Regions from separate parts of the Homo sapiens genome. Here region 2 is linked to region 1. Evidence: promoter capture Hi-C in human tissues and cell types (Jung and others, 2019). All regions are on one chromosome and are shown on one strand. Each heading gives the region's core, a stretch centred on a gene start or on the middle of the fragment in contact. The rest is flanking DNA. Distances are from core to core; before and after follow the strand shown. Region 1 holds the start of EBF1 (EBF transcription factor 1). Region 2 has its middle 120 kb from the start of LINC02227.

Region 1 (7,847 bases), core at 2,099-4,598:
CCGCCCCCTGTTCCTGACTGCTCCCTCTCTCCCAAAAGAAAATTCCGTCGGGCGCACACAGGCTATCCTCTTTCCAGGGCCTAGGGGCTCGTGCCCCGGCCACCAGAGGCAGGCGGTGCGTAATCTGGTAGTGGAGGGCGGGTTCATTCCGGGTGCCCATGGCTGTGGATTGTAGAGCCAGGCTTGCCTCTCTCTAGCTCTGGGGGCTCCGTGCGAACTTTTCTGGAGAAGGAGCCAGTGGACCAGGACCCTGGGTTCGTCTGGGATGGGAAGTGGCTTGGGGGACCCCCACATAGAAGTGTGTTATGGATGCTTTGCACTCAAGGAAGGGCGCGCTGCCCAAGGCTCCCGGGCCTGCTCCCGAGCCGAGCCGGGGACGAGGGGCGACAGCGCTGCGCCCACTTACTTTTTCCTTCTCCACGAACCCCACAAACGCTGTCCTCTCGATCTCCACGGGCTGGCCCTGTCTGTCGTAGAGGGCCAGGACGAAGTGGAAGAAGTTGGATTTCCGCAGATTGGAAGGCGGCTGCTTCTCAAAGTGAGCCCGGGCCAGACCCACCCCGCTGCGGCCAAAGACGCAGAGTTAGATGGCTAAACCGGACGCCGACCCGCGCCCCTTGTCACCCTGTACACACACTCGAACCCTCAAACACCCACCTCCTCTTCCCCCAAAACATCCAGTGGGCGCTCTTCACGCCCCTTCAGGCGACATAGACCCAGCTGACAACGGGACACACATGTCCCCTCATGTCCTCGTCCTCTCCGCCAAGGACGGGTGCGTCCTCAGAACTCGCTGAAGAGGTGTGAAAGTTTTGTTTGGGTTTTGCGCGCGAGATGAAACTCTATAAGCATTTACTCCTACCTGACACGCACTGCGTGGGGAGGAAGAAAAGTGGCGGTGGATGAAGTGAACCCACCTTCGCGGAGTAGAACCCACAGTTATATTCCGGCACCCCTCGAATCTCACGTCTCAGCTAGCAGGGCAGGTGGGAATGGATGGAAAACATGCTCGGCGTCTCGCCGCAGCAGCCACCCTCCAGGAACCCCTCAAGCTCTGGCCAACTGCGAGTGCCCGGCCTTGGGAAGCCACATCCCCCCACCACCAAAAAGCATGTGGAGAAGGGTCCGAGGGCGGGGCTCAGAACTGTCGCGGGTGGTCGCTGTGAAAAAGGGAAGAGGGGTGTTTTCTTAAAGACCTGTCCTAACAAAGTTTCGCTGTTCCGCAGAAATCCTCACACTCATTCCAGAAATCCTAAAGGCCAGGGCTGCTGGCTCAGTGCGCCGGCCGGCGATGGGAGGCTGGAGCGCCTGGGGCGCCAGGCGGCCACTGACAGCCGGACCTGCCCAACACAAGCGCGCACAGGCACACACACACACATAGAAGAACACACACGAGCGCCCCGCGCACACACTTTCACTTCCAGCCCAGTTACCCAATTCACTCTCACTACCACCCACCCCCATCCTAATACTCAGTGGGGATGGGAACAGTGTTGGGGACACTTGTCCCCAGCCCAGGGAAGCTGGAGATGATGTAATTAGTCATCTTCCTTCTTCCCCTTCCGCACTCTGAGTCCGATAGGGCCTGGGGCCACCAGATCTCCCACTGTCCCAAGCTCAGCTGGTGGCTTAATGGGGGGAAAAAGGCCATTTCTCACTTGGGACCAGGAGCCTGGGAAAGAGCCTTGGGTGTGCCCAGGAAAGTTCCCTCAGGTCAACCTCCAAGGGCAATGCCTCCAGGCCACACAGTCTAGTGTCTAGGGAGCTGCGAGTGAGAGAAGGGCTGGAAGGGGCCATGGTGACAGGGGCTGGAGAAGACTTTTGGGAGATATCAGAATTAAAGTTGGGAGTTGCTATTCTACCGGTAGACTAAGAAAAAACTGAAAGACAGAGAGGGAGGGAAGGAGAACGAGATAGCAGAAATAAGAGAAGACTCAGGGGAGAAATGGGACGAAAAAACAGGAAAGCCAGAGAGGTAAGGAAAGGAGAAAGAGGAGAAAGGAGGGAAGCTGAAGAAAGAAGAGAAAGAAAATGGAGAGAGGAAGGGAGGAAGGAAAAGAGTGAGGGAGAAATTAAGGGAAGGTGGGGGAAAGAAATGAGAGAAGGAAATGAAAGAAAGAAGAAAGAAAAGAAGGCAGGAAGAGAGACAGGAAAGAACGAAGAACGAAAGAAATGGAAGGAGGGAAGAGGGGAAGAAAGGAAGAGGAAGGAGAAGAGAAGAAAATAAAGGGGGGAGAAAGGAAAGAAGGAAGAAAGAAAAAAGAAAGGCAGGAAGAGGAAAGAGAAAGAAAAAGGAAAAAGAAAAGGAGGAAAGAAAAAAAGAAAGAAAAAGAAAAAAGAAAGAAAAAGGAAGGAAGGAAGAGAAAGAAAGAAAGAAAAAAGAAAAGAGGGAAAGGAAGAGCGAAGGGAAAGAAGAAAAGAGAGCCGGCCGGAAAAGAAAGAGCAATCACATAAAAACATAAAACACAGATCTCCAACATGCTGTGTTGAGACGCCTCTTCTGGGTTAAAACAAAATGAAAACAGTCACAGACGAGGCAGGGGAAAGTGCTGGCAAAGCGTGGGCTCCTCGCAGACAGCTCCAGGTCCTCCGGCCGCAGGCGACGAAGGCAGAGCGGCTGGAGAGCGCGGAGCCCCGGCGGAGAGCGGAGCGCAGCGGCTGCGGACTCACCCCGCCGCCCGGCCCCGCGGCAGCAGCTGCCGCTGCCGCTGCCGCCTCCGCCTCCCGGCTCTCCCGCTCGCGGCTCACCTCGGCCGCGGTCCCCGCGCAGTACCCACCTCTGCGCCGCCGTGTTGGCGTCCAGCACCCCGGCGCCCTGCATCCACGTCCGCACCGCGTTCATGCCGCTGCCCAGCGGCTCTTCCTTCATGCTGCTTCCACTCCGTTGGATGCTTTCCTGAATCCCAAACATGAAAACAACCTTTTCTTGTGGAAAATCTCCTCCCCCTTGAAAAAAATTAAAAAAAAAAAAAAAGGAAAGAAAAGAAAGAAAAGAAAAGAAACAAAAACGCCAACCAGAGATTTTTTTTTTTCTCAGACGATGAACTCGCACTTAGAAGATCAAGGCGGGCTGGAAAGCAAATTTTTAAAAAATGTAAACCTCTGCTCAAAACTGAGCGATAACCCGAAAAAAAGAAGAAAGGGAAAATCCAACGAAAAGACCAAAATAATAAAATTAGAGATGTATGCTTGGCTGTTGGGGGTTGTTTGGTTGGTTGATTTTTGGTTTGGGTGCTTTTTTTTTTTTTTTGCTTTTTTTTTTTTTTTTTTGTAATGATCACAGGCCGGTGGAGGACAGGAGGGGCTGGAGTTTCCTTTTGTAGAGGTACCCTTCACTTGAAGAAGCAGGAAGAAAAAAAAAAAAAAAAAAAAAAAAAAAAAAAAAAAACCCTGATGGCAATTTAAGAAACAATAGACTCAACTCGCGCTGCCGGCTTTGCTACTTCAAGTGTCATTTTCCACAACCAGGCAAGTTTTTTCCTCTCTCTCTCTTTTTTTTTCCTCCTTCTCTCCCAACCAAAGATGTTTCTTTCCTTTGCGTGTAGATGAGGAGGACGCTGGTTGCCGTAGACAGATACACCAGAGAGGGTGGGGGGAAGGGGAGAGAGGGAGAGAGGAAAGGGGGGGAGGGAAAGAGAGATAGAGAGGAGAGGGAGAAAGAGAGAGGGGTGGACCCTGCTGGATGGAGATTCTGTTTTCTCCTTGCTAAAATAGAAGTGATTTGCAGGCTTTCCCTATGGAATCCAGTTTGACTTTCCCCAGAGCTAAACACAGGCACACTAACCCCAAAGGGAGGAGGCGGGGCCCGCGCATCGAGGCCCCGCCCCTTCATTTGCATAACGTCATCTTTCCGCCCACCGCAGCCAATCGCGGCCCGGGAGCCGGCTCGCTGGCGGCGCCAGGCCACGCTCTCTCATTAACATCCCGCTCCCGGTGGCGCAGGGGAGCCGGCCAAAGTTCCTCGCAAAGTGGCGAGCGAAGGAGCGCTGAGCACTGACGTCTGGGCTGGGGAGGAGCGGGTCCGAGCGAGGACGGAGAGGGGACAGAGGGAAAGGGAGGCGGGTGTCTTCCTCAGGAATTTGAGCTGGGGATCTGCATCCTGGCCATTGCAGTCCTTTAGCATCCTCGCCGCGCCCTGAGCGCGCTGGAGGCTCGCAGGCTGCGCCCTCCCAGGGCTGATGCCGCGTCCTGCTCCGCCGTTCTGGGACGTCGGGGACAAAAGTGGAGGAGACGGGAGAGCCCGGGCAGAAAAAGCAGGACGCGCGTCCCAGGTGCCCACCTCTTCGCTTTGAGGCGGGGGCGGTGGGATGGAATATGGGTGCGCGAGGTCGGGGCTGGTAACTCTCGGAGGGGCACGGCCTCCACGCTGGGAGGGATGAATGGACGCTGGGCCCCGGCAAATGAGGCGCTGTGGGTCCCCAGGAAGTGGGGTACCAGGCTCTACTCCCACCCCGGCCTCTGAAACGCTTCTCTCTCGGCCGCTAGCCTAGAGGCTGCCAGGGTTGGGCACTGTTCTCACTCACACGCTCACCTCTCTCGGGCAGTCCTCGAGATATGTGAATGGTGGAATGAATGCTCTCACTGGGGCTGTGTCAGGATGCGTTTTTAAATTTTCTCAAATTAAATGCCAACCCCTCATTCCCCACCCCAAGTAGTTGGTTCGTTTGTTTTTAGAGTAACTACCAAAGCAACAGCAATGTTAACCGTCCTTGATTAGCTGGTTATTTGGTGTAGGGTTTTTCTCATCCTCCTTTATTCTTCCTGTTAAAAAGGAGGGCTTGAACAAATCCTTCCTAACTCTGTCTCTGCCATATGAAAAGGGTGGGGGGAGAAGAGAAGGAAGGTGGGGAGAAAGGACAAAAAAGGAAGAAGGGGAAGAGAAAATGGGAAGGAAGGAGGGAGAGAGAAAGGAGAGAAGGAGAAGGAACGAATGGAAATGGGAGAGATGGAAGGAAAAAGGGAAAGAAAAAAGGACGAAATTGTCTCCCTCCTCAGGCTTTTCAGCATGTATCTTTGTGGCTGGCAAAGGAAATAGCTAGAAGTTTCTGGGTAATGTACCCCATCATTTTTTAGCAGGTTGTAACCTCTAATAAGCACATGGTGAACTTCTGTTTCATTGCCCTCAAAGGAACTCCCTGACTGCAGCCAAATCTGCTAAGGACTCCTTCGGGGAAATTATCTGCCAGAAATCCAGGTCCCCTTTCTGCTGGCCTTCCTTGGTCCTTTGATTTAGGAAGCTCATGGGGTCAGTGATGGAAAAGTACACATGCCCATGTTGAATAGAGACAGGCAAGAGTTATGCTTTGTGCTCTTGGCAGAGCAGTGGAGCCACTTCCTGATTCCTAAACTGGATGAAAGAGTGTGGTCCTGGCCTGCAGTGCATGGCCACTGTCCTCAAACACTGCTTTATCTCCTGTGCACGAGGCCTGCCCAGCTCTCACACATGTAATCTAGACTTCTTGTGTGCTGAGCACTTTCCCCTGGTACCATAATTAATGCCATCTCTTCCAGGACTTCCCTGAAGGGATTGGTCTGATCTTTTGGGATCCCCATAGCATTCACAGGGGTTCCTAACATAGCGTTCATGTCGAAGAAGAGTATAATGGTGGAGAGACTTGAAGGGCTGTAGGTTTTTGGGGATAGGTATGTGAACATTTTCAGTCTCTATAGTATTTAAATGCACAATTGAAACTTGGCCTGCTAAAAACTTTCTAAAGCTCCAAACTTAACCTTATGCTCCAGGTCCAAAGGGGTCCCCAGAGTCAATCCCTCCCCCTGCCTGGGCCATATTCTCCAGCTCAGAGAGGATCCTTGAAGGTAAGGAGATGAGGAAGCAAAGCCCACCCATCCTATCAATGGGTCCCATATAGCCCTGGCAAAAGGCCTAGGCCTCCTTCTCTTTATCTGCCTGAACCTCCATTTTACTCTCCAGTAAACAGTCCTCAACTGCAGGACTCCCAGCTGAGTCTGGTGGGGTGTCTCCAGTGGTGAGGGACACAAAATAAGGGAGCAGATCACTGCCAAAGGAAGGTGACAAAAGTGCCAGGGAAAAGAAAAGCATAGACACCCTCAAGTCCAGGATCAGCAAGAGACACACAGCAGATAGATTTCTGGGGTTGAACAGAGTCTAGAAGCATCTGCAAAGGATGCGTTTGTTGAGAGCCTGAAGCTGACTCACCCAAATGAGAAAGTGGCACAAAGCAAGAAGTCCTGAGCAGCTCAATTTCTACCCCAGAGCCAGTCTCTCCAGGAACTAAATATGAGGGAGGCAATTTCCATACCTGCCAGGCTAGAGAAGGAAGAAAAATAAAAGGGGGCAGAAATATTTTGATAAGACTAATTTCCTTTGGCTGTGCAGAGGCAGCACATACCTCACCTGGGGTGGTGAGTGTGCTTTATTTTAATCAAGCCGAGTGTATTCATAGCTTTTCTTCTTGGTGTCCTTGTGCTTTCAGTCTGGCTTTCTCATCCTGTAATAAATGTTTAAGTAGGAAGGAGGCTAAAGAGAAGGTGGAAGAGAGACAGAGTGAGTGACAGAAAACTGGAAATGACACACAGGCCAGCAGAGCAGTAGTTTTTTTTATGGATTTTCTCTGGTGAATATTGAACCAGCAATTGTAATTTTAAACTTTGAAAAAGAGCCTCTTAAATACTTCTAAATCTTCATGTGAGGGTAGCACTACCTCCAGAGACAAAGCATGTGTGTAGAGGGTGATTGCCATCATACCTGAAAGCAGATACTTCAAGCACTATCCATCACAATTACCTTAGGTATATACTTTATGGTAAAGGTATCCTGTAATGAGATATTCTAGTATGTACAGCATTGCCTAGGCTTTATGGCATATGAGTGATTTGACTTTAGGGTAGTTTATAATAGTAATCCCCAAACTGGGTTCATCAGGCTAATCACATGGGGAAGGGTGCAGGCACTTGTTAGAAATGCAGATTTCCAGGCCTTATCCTGACCCACAGAATCAGAACCTCCTGTGTTGGTGCCTGGGATCTGTATTTAAAGTTATTTGGAAACTCTTGATTTTTGAATATATATCATCTCTGAGAGAAAGAAGGAAGGGAAGGAAGGCGTGAGGAAAAAAGACTTTTGCATGGGGAAAAAATACAGCAGAATGAGTTTACACCTGGAAAGAAAAACTAGAGAGGTTTGGGGTTTCCCCTGGAGCCTAGTTTCCCTGATGAGCTCCTCAAAATTTCTGCAGCTGTGGGAGTTCAGGATACACAGCCCCTCAGATGCTCCCAGCGGTAGGCAGGGCTGTCCAGCTCTCGGGATCTCTTGACCTGGGCCTGGAGGAAGCCCAGGGCAGTGTGCAAGCACTCCCTACCCACCCACTCCCACCCTGACCTTCTGCTCCTTGGCTATCCCAACCCTCTTGAGGCACAGGGAAATCAATTCCCCTTTCTGAAAGGCAACATCTACCAGTAATTTCTGGGGACTCCAGTAGAAACATACCGGTCTCCCCAAAGAGAAGAGACTAGATAAATACAGCCAAACTAAGACCCGTGGAAAGGTCCCAGCGGAAGAGGGAATCGTCTCTGTTCGTCCGCCCCCAGGAGGCCAGACTTGGGACCTGTCACTTGGAAAATTCTCTTGATCTCCATTCCCCTTGTGAGGGCGGGCCCACAGAAGGGCAAACCGTCCCGGGACGTGCCCCCTTCCCTCGCCACCTGCCAGGGACAGCTTCGAACGAGGCGGGAGGACAGATGCCTACTTCAGTGTTGGGAAGGGAAAGGGGAAAAGAAAGATGCAAGGACCTAAGCCAAGGCGCAAAGTCCCTCAGATTGCGGCCGCTCCAGAGGAGTCGACCAGCAGCCTGGAGTCGGGGTTGAGG
Region 2 (7,847 bases), core at 2,793-5,292, 810 kb before region 1:
TGGCATAAAGTTTGAAAAAGTTACTTTAAAACGTTCTGTTAAATTGATTTTCAGGATCGTGAATGCTGAAAGATTGACAGCTCTGGGAAGAGCGCCATCTCTCAAGTGTGCATTTTACAAGGAGCAGTGAGTTGAGATTTCCCCGCTATGAGGCCTCTGCTGAGGTGACGTGCCCAGCACTCAGCGCAGGAGGGAAGCGTTTCTGTGACTTCTGTAGCTTTTGCTCTATTCACCATTGATTCCAAGTTACTGTGACTTCACAGACATCTTCATGAATGTGAACTGAGTCACCTCCAACTTGTGCCGTCTGGGTCACTGAATGTGGTAACAAGGGAGAACTGGGAAGCAGGTCCAACTTACCTTCAACCTCAGCTGTCTGACTCAGGCAGAGATTGACTGCAAACACCAGAAACATAAACATAGCCCAGCTGGCAAAAGTAAAGGAGAAAGTGGAGTTTTATTGCAATTGGCCATCGTATGTTTACACAGGAAGCAAAGTACAGCTGAAGCCCTAAGAGAAATCTAGGAAATGAAGGGCCTCTCTTTGTTTTTCAAACGTCCCCAGGTCTCTCTCATTATTGCTTTTCTCGGCTCCAACTCTCCTTTGCTTGTACACAGTCTGAATGGTCGCCTCAGCCTCACTCAGCTTCTACTTTCTCAGCCTCTACAAATCCCCTCAGACATCTAACTGATGAGGCTCTGTGTGTTTCTTGGTTTACATGAAAAAAATTCAGAGAGAGAGAGAGAGAGAAAGAGAGAGTGTGTAAGTACAGCTGATGGCTTGGTGAACCTATAGAATGGACTTCCTGGTCATTCCTAGTGTAATCCAGAGATGATCACAGCTATGTGGGTAGGAGCAGGGTAGAAGGAGATGGCGGCAGATAGGCAGGACTTGGCATTACTAGTCCATTCTTCAGTTGATGGATGGCTTTGTAATATAGCAACTGATTAGACTGAACTGCATGTCCCAGGATTCCAGAATCCCTTTCCTGATGTGTTCCCATTAGGGTAGGCTGCAGAAAGTTTCTTTTCATAAGATCTGGAGACTGGAGCTGAAGCAGTAGCCATTTTGTAGCTTCCACACACTGTCAGTTGTCTGTAGGCTCACCTCTTTGGCATGAGGCAGCAGCTAGGCAGGTCTGCATAGCTTCTCCAACTTTTGGGCTATGTGTGTGCCTATCTCCAAGATGAAGGGCTCTGGCCTCTGTAGGAAAAGCAGACCATCAAGGTCAGAGGCAGTGAGCACTGACATAGGTTCCAGTGCATCCTTGTGAGCATCAGCTTATGCAGTGGCTTTCAGCTTCTTGCTCTCCTTTACTTTACATCCATCTTCCCTTTCCCCGGCCTGCCTTGCAGGCCCTAAGCTCCAGTATAAGATGGGAAGACAACAGCCTTGAGAAACTGCTTAACCAGTGCCACAATTAAGTAAAGTCAAATCCCTGTAAGAAATCCTTTCATATGCTTGTATACATATCCCTTCTAGTAGTTCTGCCTCTCTGATTGAGTCCTGACAGATACAGTAGATCCTCAGCTCCTCACCTTGCTGACAGAGTGATTCCTTACTTGCTAGCAAGATGGTAAGTGATTCTGTCTTCTTTTTGGTATCCAGATCCTCTGCTCAAACCTGTATTCTTTGGGTGGAAATTTCTTGTATTTTTGGTCTTCTTTGGATTACCCTCTACCTATAGGTACAGTAAATTAATTCACGCGAAGGTGTTAGCAGCTAGAAGACCATTGAGTGATTAGGGACAACCCCCCAAATGTCCTCCTAGCCTGCCTTTATCTCCTACTGCTCCTCTCTTTGCTCATGACAGTGCAGCTATGATTATCTTCTTCCAGAGTCTTGAATATGCCAATATGATTTCATATTTGCCACTTCTTCATGTACTGTTCCCTCTACCTGGAATGTTCCTCCTCTGCCTCATCACATGTCTTCTGTCTTCACTTTATCTTTAAGTCTTATTCAAAATGTACCTTTCTTGAAGGGGCCTTCCCAAATAACCACATATTACATTGAACCTGTGGAAGCATGAAAGTTATTTGGAACATTGTCTTAAAAAGGAGCTAGAGGCTGTATTTGGGTTTGAAAGGAGAGTGTGCGGTGATTGATTAGCAATGTCTGCCATGGGTGTAGGATATAGAGCTGTGGGATTGTTTCTGTGTATTTTTTCTCTTCGGCTTAAAGGATCTTGCATTAACTAAAACCCCAAATTCTAGTGTTGCTGCTGACTTGCTATATGATCTTCACTTATTCATGTGACCAGTGCCTAACCTACCTCACCAACAAGTCCCCACAGTTAGGTCATAGATCATCAGCACATGCAGGTAGTGGTGGGTGGGTGGGTGGGAGTGGAGGAGGGTGTCCAAAAGATAAATGTGAATATTCAATGACATTTGAAGTTCTTAAGGAAGCAAGACAGTTTTAGTGCCTTATGTTTAGAAATTAAAAAGAAAACAAAAGAAAAATCCACATGGAAATGACTCCTGGTTGCCCATTTTCTGAGGGAACTAAAAGGAAGGAGGAAAGAAAGGGGATATCTCACAGTGCTGGTTGTGCAGTTACTAACCAGCACTGTGAACTTTCAGCAAGTCCATCAACCTCTCAGGACATTGGTTTTCTGATCCGTAGCAGACATATTGCACTTACTCTAAGAGTCAGTCAAACTTTCTATAATAAAAATGTTGGCAAGATGGAGAGATTCTGAAAGTGGTGAAATTAAAGGATAGGAAAGAGATTCTCTGGGGAAAATAGTGGACTTACTGGCTGCTGATGCAGGACTGCAGCATTGCTTTAGGGAAGGGGGGAGTCTTCAAATATCTTTCCCCTGATGTCTCTCACCAGTTTTGATCTGTGACTTCAAATTAGTGTGTGAATGACAAGACACTACAAAGAAACATTAGGTGTTTCTGCAGGCATCCTTTGTGTGTCCAGGGGAGGAGAGAGGGCAGAGCTGGGGATCGGCGTTAGTCCAGAGAGATACCACTGCCTGCCAACTGCCCCTTGGGGAGCTCAGCAGTAAGCTGGGGAGTTACATGACTCCAGGCCAGTCTGATCAATAAAGGGCATCCTTACTATAGCAACACAGCACAGTGGCGGGGCTGCCGTTGATCACGTGCCCCCTTCCCCCGACGCTGTGGAGTTTGGAGCAGGCAATTAGAACTTGGAGGCAGCTTCCCTCAAAGGTTGAAGAGCTGACAGATGAGCAAAGAGCTTTCCTGCTCCTCCATCCCAGTGTAGCCATGGAAAGCTTTTAGCTTACTCACCTTTGGTATTAGCCATTGTTGGGTTATATTAGAAAAATCACCGAAGTGGCTTGGGAATGAGGCTTAGCATGGAGAAGTCACCAAAAGAAGAGAATTCTTTTAAATAATAGCAATAACAATAATCATAGTTAACTTTTATTGTCTGCGTGACTATTTGATTAATGTCTCCCCCTCTAGCCTGGAGTTTCCAGTAGTGAAGAGAAGACAAGTATTTTCACACTCTTTTATATCCACTGTCTTGTGGCCATTCCATATTTACTGAATGAAAGAGTCAACTGTTAATTGTGAGTTAGGCACCATTGGCATAGATCCTCTTGTTCAGTCCTGACAATAATCCTCTAAGGCAAAGACTGTTATTACCCCCATTTGATTGACAGAGAAAAAAGAGGCAGCAAGGGTTTTATAGTTATTAAAGCAGGGTTTCTTAACTCTGGCAACACTGTCATTTTCGGTCAGACAATTGTTGTGGGGGGCTGTCCTGTGCATTGTAGAATGTTTAGCAGCACCCGTTGCCTCTATTCACTTGAAGCCAGCAGCACAGCTTCCCCTCCCCATTTGTGACAGCAAGAAATGTCTCTAGATGTTGCCAAATGTCCCCTTGAGGGAGAAATAACCCCCACTTTTTAGTAGGAAAGATGGCACGTCTTGCCTGCCCTTCACCGTGTGCATGAATGGTGATATGTGCTACATTTATTTTAGGTGATGTGTTGCTCTGGTGCAGCTTAAGTGGGGGTCTTTTGTTAGGCTGCTTGAGTGTGTTTTTGTGTGTGTGAGCAGGGGATACTCAGCCAGGAGGCATATCATGTTTGGGCTCTGGGCTCATGGCACATCAGTGATAAACTGGGCAGGTCCCTCAGCCTGAAACCTGGAAGAAGGGAGAAGACTCCAGGGAGTTTGGGAGGTTCCTTCTGAGAATCAAATTAGGTCTGAGAGAAAATTGTATTGTCTGTCCTGGAATGATTTTTGAAGGCAGTCTAATATATGTAAACAGCAAAGACTTAGGAGACTTTTAGACTCTGATGTGAATGCTTGTGCACAGGTCATTTAATTCCTCTGAACCTGTTTCACATCTGTAAAGTCAGGGAACCTGGGAAGACTGACTTCAGTGATGGTCAGTTCTGTGGCACCCAGGCTGACAACGGCTCCTACATTGAGTGTGTGTGTGTGTGTGTGTGTGTGTGTGTGTGTAAAAAAAAGGGATAGGCCAAGCCAAAGTTTCCCCAGGGACGACATCCTTATCTCTGCTCCTGTCCTCATAATTGTAACCTGCATTGGGCATTTTCTGTGTGCCAGACACTGTTCTAAGAGTTTCATATGTATTAATTCACTTAATCCTCATAATCCCTGACAAACACAGCCCTCTCCAAATGCCCAGCCAGCTAATCACAGAACTGGATTTCAATATATTTCCTTCATTGACATTGTTTAGAGAGCTAGTGGAAATTCTTATTATCAATGAATTCCAAAAAATAAAACCAAAAAACACATGATTTTAATTTCGATCTGCTGTATATAGAATTTTGGGATCCATGATTTTTTTTATTTCATATAATATAGGAAGAGTGTTTCATAATTATTCTTAAAGCAATTTGGGACCTCCTTGCTGATGGTAGAAGCAAAATAACTTCATGTGGTTTCCCCCACAATACAATACATACTGCATAATTTTCCTATTTGGAAGAATGATGTTTTCCAGATGCAATCATATATAAACCTAATTATCAAATGTCCAGCAGGGCATAATTTAAATTAATTTATTCTACTTTTTTAAAAAATGCATGTCTTCCATACTGAGATATTTTATTTATACTTTAGAAAACTATAGAATTTGAATTTTTAACTATTATGCTTAATTCCTCAAAGGAAGATAATTGCTTTCTGAAAATTCTTTTTTTTTTCTGTAGCAAATATCCTGTTCATTTTGTGATTTTGTTGAAGTAGTTCTACTCTTTGGGTTTGGAAGTCCAATAGTCCAGGTAAGACAGTTGGGTTAAGTCTTCCACTTGTCAGCATAAGCTTATAGTGTACATAGACTTATATTTTAATATATTCTCTTCTACCAGCTTGTTTAAAGCAATTGTTTACAAACTTTTTGATGTCACATCACTATCAACAAAACATTTTCTAGCATGTATCCCTAATGTGTGTACAGTTATTTATAAATTATATACATTCTTGTTGTGTATTAATATCAGTAAAGTTGTGCTTGTTTCCTTTTAAAAAACTAAAACGAAGATAACTACACAGTGTAATGTTTCCACATCCATATGAGTCATTGTCACACATCCCATTTGAGAGTCCACTGTGACAGGAAAGAGTTGCATAGTCTATTTTCTTATTTAATAATGGGAGATATTATCCATCCTGCTTATCTCACAGAGTTGAAAGAGCATCAAATGGAATAATAGTGATTATTAGAACTGTAATTAATAGAACTGTATCAGTTAGCTATGGCTGTGTAACAAACCACTCCAAAATCAAGTGGCTTAAGGAAATAATTTATTAGCTTGTGATTCTGTGGTTCAGCAATTTGGATTGGGCTCTGCTGAGTGGTTCTGTTGTTGGTTTTAGCTCAGCTCATCTTTTGGTGACACATCAGCTGGTGGCTAAGGAAGGGCTAGATAAGGTAAGATGGCCTCATTCACCTATCTGGGGCTTGGTATTGGCTATTAGATGGGACCCCCTCTTCATGTGGTTCTTGTCCTCAAGTTGGCAGGGTTGGGCTTTTTCACATGGTCATTAGAGTACTCTGAGAAGATGAGAGCAGAAATGGCAAAGCCTCTTAAGGCCTAAACTTAGAACTGGTATGTCTATGTGTCTGTCACTTTTGTCACATTTTGCTGGTTAAAGGAAGTCACAAGTCCAGTTCAAATTCAAGGGTTGAAGAGAAAGACTTAGTTTTTTGATGGAAGTTGCAGAGTGCTTGAAATTGGGTTATTTTAATGATTCTTAAAAATAAACCTAAGAGTTTAGTACTATTGACGTGTTCATTTTATAGACAGGAAAACTGAAGTGCAGAGAGGTTGGATCATGGCCTTATCAGTACATGGTGCTATTATTCTCTCTATTTAACAGTTGTGAAAACTGAGGCTTAGACCCAACTGGCACATTCAGCATCACAAAAGAAATAAATAATGGAATGGTAAAGCAACCCCAATCTTCTTCCTGCAAGAGCCTGGCAGTTGCAAAAAGTAATTAGTTAGCTGGCAGCAAAAGTAATTAGTTAGCTGAGTATTTTTGTCTAACAGCTTCAATCTGTAAAGCACTTATTTGGAGGTCATAACCTCATGTTTCTTTTTATTTTATTTTATTTTTTTTAAGAGTTGAGTTCTTACTCTGTTGCCCAGGCTGGAGTGCAGTGGTGCTATCATGGCTCACTGCAGCCTCAAACTCCTGGGCTAAAGCAATCCTCCTGCCTCAGTCTCTTGAGTATCTGGGACTACAGATGCACACCATCATGCCTGACTCCCATTTTTCTAACTTAAATATAGACCCTTGTTTTCTAAACATTTTGAATCATGCTTCCTATACATAAAAATAAAAATTCTGAACACAAACCCCCAATCTATATGTATTTATATATAAATTATAATCTTATTATTGTTCCTTATTTTATTCATTGGTATAGCTTGATTTTCTTCTTATTTTTATAGACAAAATAAATAGAAGTAGAAAAGAACATAACTGTCTTCCTTCATTAAAGCAAATTGTCTTGCACTTCTCCTGGAGTACGTACTCCCTATTTTGGAGATTGCTAGAATAGAATAAGGCCCATTCATTAGCATGGCAACAACTATGTCTGAGATAGCAGAGAGCAGACCACCCCTCAGGGACTCTGCAGTAGCTATTTCAGATCAAATTGAAAGCCCAACAATACCTGCATTAACTTCAGTTAGCACCGAGCTACCAAGGAAAGGAATGCATGTAGATTTTATTTGACGAAACTTCATGACCCAGCACTTAGGAACGATGTTGTTTTGGATAAGTTTACTTAATTTCTGCATGCCTTGATCTGTAATCTGTAAAATAAGGGATATTAACATAAACCACAGCACCGAATTGGGAGAATTACATAAATAAATGCTAAAATAATGCCTGGCACATTGAAAGTGCTAATGGATGTTGGCTGTTGTTATATGTCATTTCCGAACGATTGACTATGATTCTCTAGAATGTCATGCTAGATTCTGAGACCAGGTCTGTGCTCAGAAGCCAACAGTCCCCTGATTGATTTGCAGTGCCTATTATGGACATGGACTAGGGTTGAGATGGTATGTACCGAGCATCTTCTATGAAAAGAGAAATTCTTCTTCCTATTTCCCTGGTATAAACAATTCATTTGGGTCATTGCCTGTTTTTCTGCCAACGGACTGTGTGTGAAGATGGCTGGGTCATCATGGGGGAGATGTCCTTAATAGTTTGGTTGTATCTCTGGGTTGAAAGCCTTCATGTAGTGGAATTATCATGAGTTTTCAACTGTGCCCCACTATAAGTTTAATTCTTCTTTGATTCACACTGTTAGAAAATTTAAAGCCATAAATTATCATCTAGTTAAACCTTTTCCTTGACAGACGGTGAAACTG

Evidence for each region. Contacts are between HindIII fragments. The study calls those that stand out against the background at their distance.
Region 2: a fragment that was not itself captured here is called in contact with the fragment with the promoter of EBF1 in region 1 in 1 of the 25 tissues and cell types used here (mesendoderm cells).

Annotation. Positions count from the first base shown.
Region 1 is chr5:159,096,568-159,104,414 of GRCh38, forward strand. EBF1 (EBF transcription factor 1) reads right to left here and starts at 3,349. Exons shown (of 16, transcript NM_024007.5): 1 at 2,778-3,349; 2 at 407-563. The coding sequence starts at 2,911. LINC02202 (long intergenic non-protein coding RNA 2202) reads left to right here and starts at 3,916. Exons shown (of 3, transcript NR_109890.1): 1 at 3,916-4,271. RefSeq lists enhancers at 1-91, 986-1,879, 3,629-4,257, 4,258-4,884, 7,465-7,847 and a silencer at 2,522-2,811. The HindIII fragment of the contact is 15,907 bases long and covers 1-7,847 here.
Region 2 is chr5:158,287,635-158,295,481 of GRCh38, forward strand. No RefSeq gene overlaps it. Among named protein-coding and RNA genes, the nearest start is that of LINC02227, 120 kb to the right of the region's middle. The HindIII fragment of the contact is 5,538 bases long and covers 1,274-6,811 here.